Linked DNA regions of Homo sapiens: region 2 is linked to region 1. The links are contacts of gene promoters, found by promoter capture Hi-C in human tissues and cell types (Jung and others, 2019). All regions are on one chromosome and are shown on one strand. Each heading gives the region's core, a stretch centred on a gene start or on the middle of the fragment in contact. The rest is flanking DNA. Distances are from core to core; before and after follow the strand shown. Region 1 holds the start of SLC9C1 (solute carrier family 9 member C1). Region 2 overlaps CCDC80 (coiled-coil domain containing 80).

Region 1 (2,832 bases), core at 289-2,788:
GGACTACAGGCGCCAGCCACCACGCCCGGCTAATTTTTTGTATTTTTAGTAGAGACGGGGTTTCACTGTGTTAGCCAGGATGGTCTCGATCTCCTGACCTTGTGATCTGCCCGCCTCGGCCTCCCAAAGTGCTGGGATTACAGGCGTGAGCCACCACGCCCGGCCACAGGTTTTCAATATAATTAGAACTCTTCATCTTAAGCTGACTTTTGACAGCTTTGTAAAAGTCTGTGAGTCCAAATCCCATTAAAGAAAAAAATATTGGTTTATCACATAGGTCCTCTGCATTAATTTAACAATAAGTTAGTTGACTGAGCACAGTGGCTCACGCCTGTAATCCCAGCACTTTGGGAGGCCTAGGCGGGTGGATCACTTGAGATCAGGAGTTCGAGACTAGCCTGGCCAAAATAGTGAAACTGTCTCTACTAAAAATACAAAAAAAAAAAAAAAAAAATTAGCCAGGTGTGGTGGCACATGCCTGTAATCCCAACTACTTGGGAGGCTGAGACAGGAGAATCAATTGAAGAGGCAGAGATTGCAGTGAGCCTAGATTGTGCCACTGCACTCCAGCTTGGGTGACAGAGTGAGACTCTATTTCAAATATATATATATATATATATCTCTCATGTTAGCTAATATCTCAATTCTCTTTGTGTGTGGAGGAAATTAATGACTGCCCTCTCAAAAATGACATGAATTTGTCCTTGTCAGTCAGCCAGCATTGAGAAATTTTGTCTCATGAACCGTAAGTCACACTAATTTACCATGTTACTGAACATGGAAACAGTCTTCTTCCTTCAGATTGGAACGTTTTGCAAGAATTAGGTGAAGAAAGCATCCTGAAGAGGGCACTGTGGGATCTCAGTAATCTTCACAGCTACAAAGCTCATGCTTAATGGTTTATTTTATATTGATACCAGAGGCTGGATTGTCTCCTTAGTAAACTCTCCTACCACACAACGCAGACATCTTACTGACTCTGAAGGTGGGTGGGCTATTGCCCTCCTAATGCCCCTCCACTCAGAATGAGCCCTTCCTCCAGCTCAAGATCAGCTCCACACACCTGAGGCGATTCCCTGAACCAGTGAGCTTTCCCCTAGGGCTGGACTTTTCAGTTTCAGTAACGCAAAGGGAACACATGCCACTGGATAGTTCACAAAGAGTTGATGTAAAAAGCATAATGGAGGAGGGGAAGCAGCTAAGGGGTAGAAGTTCAAACCGAGAAGCTAGCTGATCTTTGGGAAAGTGTTCCATGGTCTGCCACAAGAAAGGCAGAAGCGCCAAGAGGGAGTGGCTGAATCTCTAGCAGGAAAACAGTGGGAGCCTTTGTTCATCTAGGAGGCGAGACTGAGAGAGAAAGTACCAGTAGGAAAGGTCAACTTCCAGAAAAGGAAACTAGAGACTGGAGAGCTCACCATCCGGAGCCTCAGGAGGAGTATCCCGTGGTGTGCAAGTGAGAAGTGGGGGGCAGCTATTTCGCTCACAGCCAAACAGCCCAGACCAACTGCAACCTCACTGACAGTTACTTGCTCCAAACTCGCCCCTAGTCTGCACCGGTTAGCTTCAGGCCCATCATCTCTTACTTGATTGGCTGATGAAATGCAACGTCATTGCTCCTGTATATCTCAGGCATTTGACGGCTTAAGGCTTTGTTTTATTTTTTAAAAATAAACAAATAAGGGGTGAAAATGAACCTACAGAAATTGCGCCATTGTGTTAATTTAAGACTTTGGGACAGTGGATTTCTGACAAAGAGCTGTTGGACACTGCTTTCCCAGAATTCTAGTAAAAGGAAGTTTCCTGGATAAGATAGTGTGGTAGAGATATGAGGACGCAGGTTGCTGGGTTAGGGAAAAAGTGAATGGATATTGTGGGCATGTAAGAGAATGAAATCAAGATGACAAGGTGAACTTTCACTCTGGGTTATATGTGAGGAAATTTTCAGGAATAATGATATACTCATTTGTTTTTTCTAAACATAATATGTAAAAAATATTTTAATTGAAATTACTTAGTTATTACTATAGAGCCAACTTTTCACATTCCTACTCTCATAAAATATCTTAAAGTTATTTAAAATTGTATTTAATGTTTTGTTCTCTGTGTTTCATCTCTTTCTCCCGACCCACACGTTTATAAGTGAATGGTGGTAAAATTCCCAACTCTTCATTTGGCCTCCTCTGATACTACCCTGATGAAGAAGGCAGGAGGCAACTTGTTTGGCTGGGTTGGAGCAGAAGTCCAGGCTCCCTACATGGTCTCCAACTGAGGCATGGGGTGCATCTTTATGGCCTGGTTGTTATGGAAGTTCCAGCTCCCACAAGGCCTTTTCTGATACTGCTCTGGTTGGGGTGGGGAAACAGGCAGGGTTCTGGCATCTTGTATGGTATGGGTGAAGTTTAAGCTTCCTACTCAGTCTTTGCTGGTATGTGGGTACAGGGAGTGGGTGAACACTTTTCTGTGGTGTTTGGTTAAAGTAGAGCAGTTACTGGTGAAATTTTCTGTCTTGCTGGGCTGCCCCTTTTCTTGGGTCTTTAAAAAATCTATTCTCGGCCAGGTGCAGTGGCTCATGCCTGTAATCCCAGCACTTTGGGAGGCCGAGGCAGGTGGATCACCTGAGGTCAGGAGTTCGAGACCAGCCTGACCAACAAGGTGAAACCCCGTCTCTACTAAAAATACAAAAATTAGCCGGGCATGGTGGCAGGCGCCTATAGTCCTAGCTCCGGGAGGCTAAGAAAGGAGAATCACTTGAACCCGGGAGATGGAGGTTGCAGTGAGCCGAGATTGCGCCACTGCACTCCAGCCTGGGAGACAGGGTGAGACACCGTTTCA
Region 2 (2,906 bases), core at 352-2,851, 340 kb after region 1:
CTAACAAATAATTAGTTATATATTACTAAATATATTTTATATTCTTTCAAGTGCTTTTAGATGAAATATATTTTACGGAAACTATGCAGAATATGCAAACGATGGAATATAAAGGATTACTCTAAGGTTTTTTTTTTTTGTAGTTAAACCATGAACAACAACAAAACAGTAGAAAGTGCATATAAGAAAAAAAGCTTTTTAAAAAATAAAGCCCTAGAGATGCAATAATTATGAAATAAACTGGGTGGGTCATATTTTGGGCTTCTGACTATGAGGCTTAACTAATCACAGTAAATCTTGCAACGTTCCCAGGAGAACTGCAATGAGTTAGATCTCAGCTGTCCAACACTGGGCTGTACGCCTCATGAGTCTCACATGCACCATTCATATGTAAAATTGCGAAAACTCTAAATTCAGCCAAATTCTTCTACTCTCCAAAAGGACTTGGGTGCAGTTCAGTCCATATTTTCAGTGACTTTTCATTTATCTTAACAGCTTCTCTCAGTTCTGGTTAATTCCTTCCTCAGGCTTGCCAGAGTCAAGTACTTCCGAGAGTCTGGCAAGTCCCATCTGTGATGAGTCACCTGCAGCGGAGAGTCTGCAGGAAGATCAGACGGGGCTGCTCACAGGCGAGAAGACTCAGTACCCAGAAAAAGTGTCTGAATGCCTCTCTGATTCTCTCCCACACTGTGTTACTTTTCCCATTTTCTTCCACCTTACTGACTTTCAGACAATAGAGTGTTTGCGTATTTTTCTTTTTTACAGTGCTTAAAACTTAAACGAGAACCATCCTGGAATGGCTATTTAAATAAGCAGGCAAACTGACCTGTGTTATCACAACCAAAGAGCCCTCTGAACATCTTCATTTTCTTTTGGATCCCCCATGTACCTCTACCATAAAGTTTGTCCCACCTTAGATATGAGAAAAACAATAATATAATTAAAATGTTTAAGAGAACCTAGCTGAAAGTGGTCGATTTTCATGGTGCTGTTGTTGACAGGGCCGAAGATGGTGATCACAGAGATTTTCCTGGTAGCCATCTTGCAGAAACTTTCCAGATATTCATCACGTTGTTGCACATACATATTGTTCTCAGCCTTGGGAGCAGTGATCAGCTGGAGGTGGGTGAAGACAAACAAATACTCATTTATAGTGATAGTTTCACACTGAAGCAAAACCCAAAGAGATGATTTGGAAGAGAGGGCTGGTAGTGACTGCATCTAAGCTACAAATGTTCTGCTGAACAGTTAGCATAATTAGGACCAAAAAGGGCCATTTGAAAAGGCCTCTTTTTGTCTCCAAGACAGCTTGGAGTTTTCTACTCACTTCCATTATTTACCTCCATTACTAGCCTCCACATGTCTCACTTTTCTTATTTGTGAACTCTGCAAAGGAATATTTATTTTGCAAGGCTGCTGTGAACATTACATGAATACTTGGCATGCAATAATTGTTCAATAAATGTTATTTTCCTTCCCTAATTTTGATCTTCATTATTCTCACTGGCTGATTAGATATTGGTTAATACAGTGGTTACTACTATTATTCACATTTCACAGGGTTAAGAGAGTTTCATAGCCAGGCCCTGGGCACTACGAAACATTCTGTGATTTAGAACTCTTATTAGAAAACCTTGCAGAAAGGTTTTATGATGACTTTTAGGCCTACGTTTTGTCACATAGAATATATTCACTGTCACATTCAGCCTGCACAGAGTTGGTGGTGTTTGTCTTTTGATATTGCAGTTTTCCAACAGGATGTTTTTTACTCTAAGTTTAGCCCTCTCTTTGGTTCAGACCTGGTATTTTTCACCTAGCCCTCTGTCTTTCATCCTCATCCTATGACCCCTGTCTTCTGGGGGAAAAAAAAAAGAGGAAAGACAAAGCAATCAAAAGAAATACTTTAGTCACCAGAAATCTGAGAAAATGTAATTTATTTTGGATACAGTAAGGATAACCCTACTTTTAAGAGGTCCTCTTGAATCTTTTCTCTGAGAACGTCTCACTATTTTTATCTAACCTAATACAAAAGCTTCTCTACTCTCTTGATTAATTTAGCTGCCCTTCCCTGAGCCTTCTCCAATTTTACCAATTTTACTCAATCCTTGAGCTGAAGCTAGAACTCTGTTCCACATCCCACAAGCTAGTGGGCATAATGCTGCTTACCTTGGAGGTGGGAGGATGTGAAATTTTATTGTGATGATGACCAGGTCTTTGTTGAGATCCTTGATCCCAAATAGATCACCAGGCTGATGTCTGCAATGAACGCTGTCTATTTGCCCTTTGTTGCATCATCACTAAGCTCAGAAGCAAACCTCTATAAATCATTTTTCTGTAAACAACTTTTTGCATTTGACTAAATACAAATTTATCAGCCAATTTTCTTGCATTTGACTACATTCAAATGTATCAACCAACTTTCTATTTATCCGCCTAAACTTATAAACTATTTCCGATATTTATGACTATTACCTTGGCATTTTTCAGAGGGCAAATCACCAGGCTGTGTACCTCTTCCAAATATTTTATCAAAAATGGTTAATAAATCTGGTCTCAGCTTGATCCTGCTGTTTATTTTTCTCTGTCAGAGATGTCTGTATTGCTACCTGCAGGCTTTCCCTTCTAAGAATTCTCCCCGCATGACAAAATACTCTCCCTCAAGGAAATTAAACGTGTTCAATAGCCTTTGAATGGAACGTTAACAAAGGTTTTCTGGGATGAAGTTTTTGTTTTGTTTTGTTTTGTTTTTCAGATCATAATTAATTTTAAATAGACATGCTTTAGTTTATTTTTCATGTGTTTCTATGCCTGCTCATACGGACATTCTGGGTAGGAAATGCTTGTTTTAGGAACATAATTTTTTAAGGGGAAAAACAAAATTTCTCCAAATTTATTCATTGATTCAC

The links. Contacts are between HindIII fragments. The study calls those that stand out against the background at their distance.
Region 2: a contact is called between a fragment that was not itself captured here and the fragment with the promoter of SLC9C1 in region 1, in 2 of the 25 tissues and cell types used here (H1 embryonic stem cells and thymus).

Annotation. Positions count from the first base shown.
Region 1 is chr3:112,292,678-112,295,509 of GRCh38, forward strand. It overlaps SLC9C1 (solute carrier family 9 member C1), which reads right to left and starts at 1,539. Exons shown (of 29, transcript NM_183061.3): 1 at 1,416-1,539. The HindIII fragment of the contact is 5,534 bases long and covers 1-2,832 here.
Region 2 is chr3:112,629,154-112,632,059 of GRCh38, forward strand. CCDC80 (coiled-coil domain containing 80) reads right to left here. Exons shown (of 8, transcript NM_199511.3): 3 at 960-1,116. Among named protein-coding and RNA genes, the nearest start is that of CCDC80, 11 kb to the right of the region's middle. The HindIII fragment of the contact is 4,136 bases long and covers 1-2,906 here.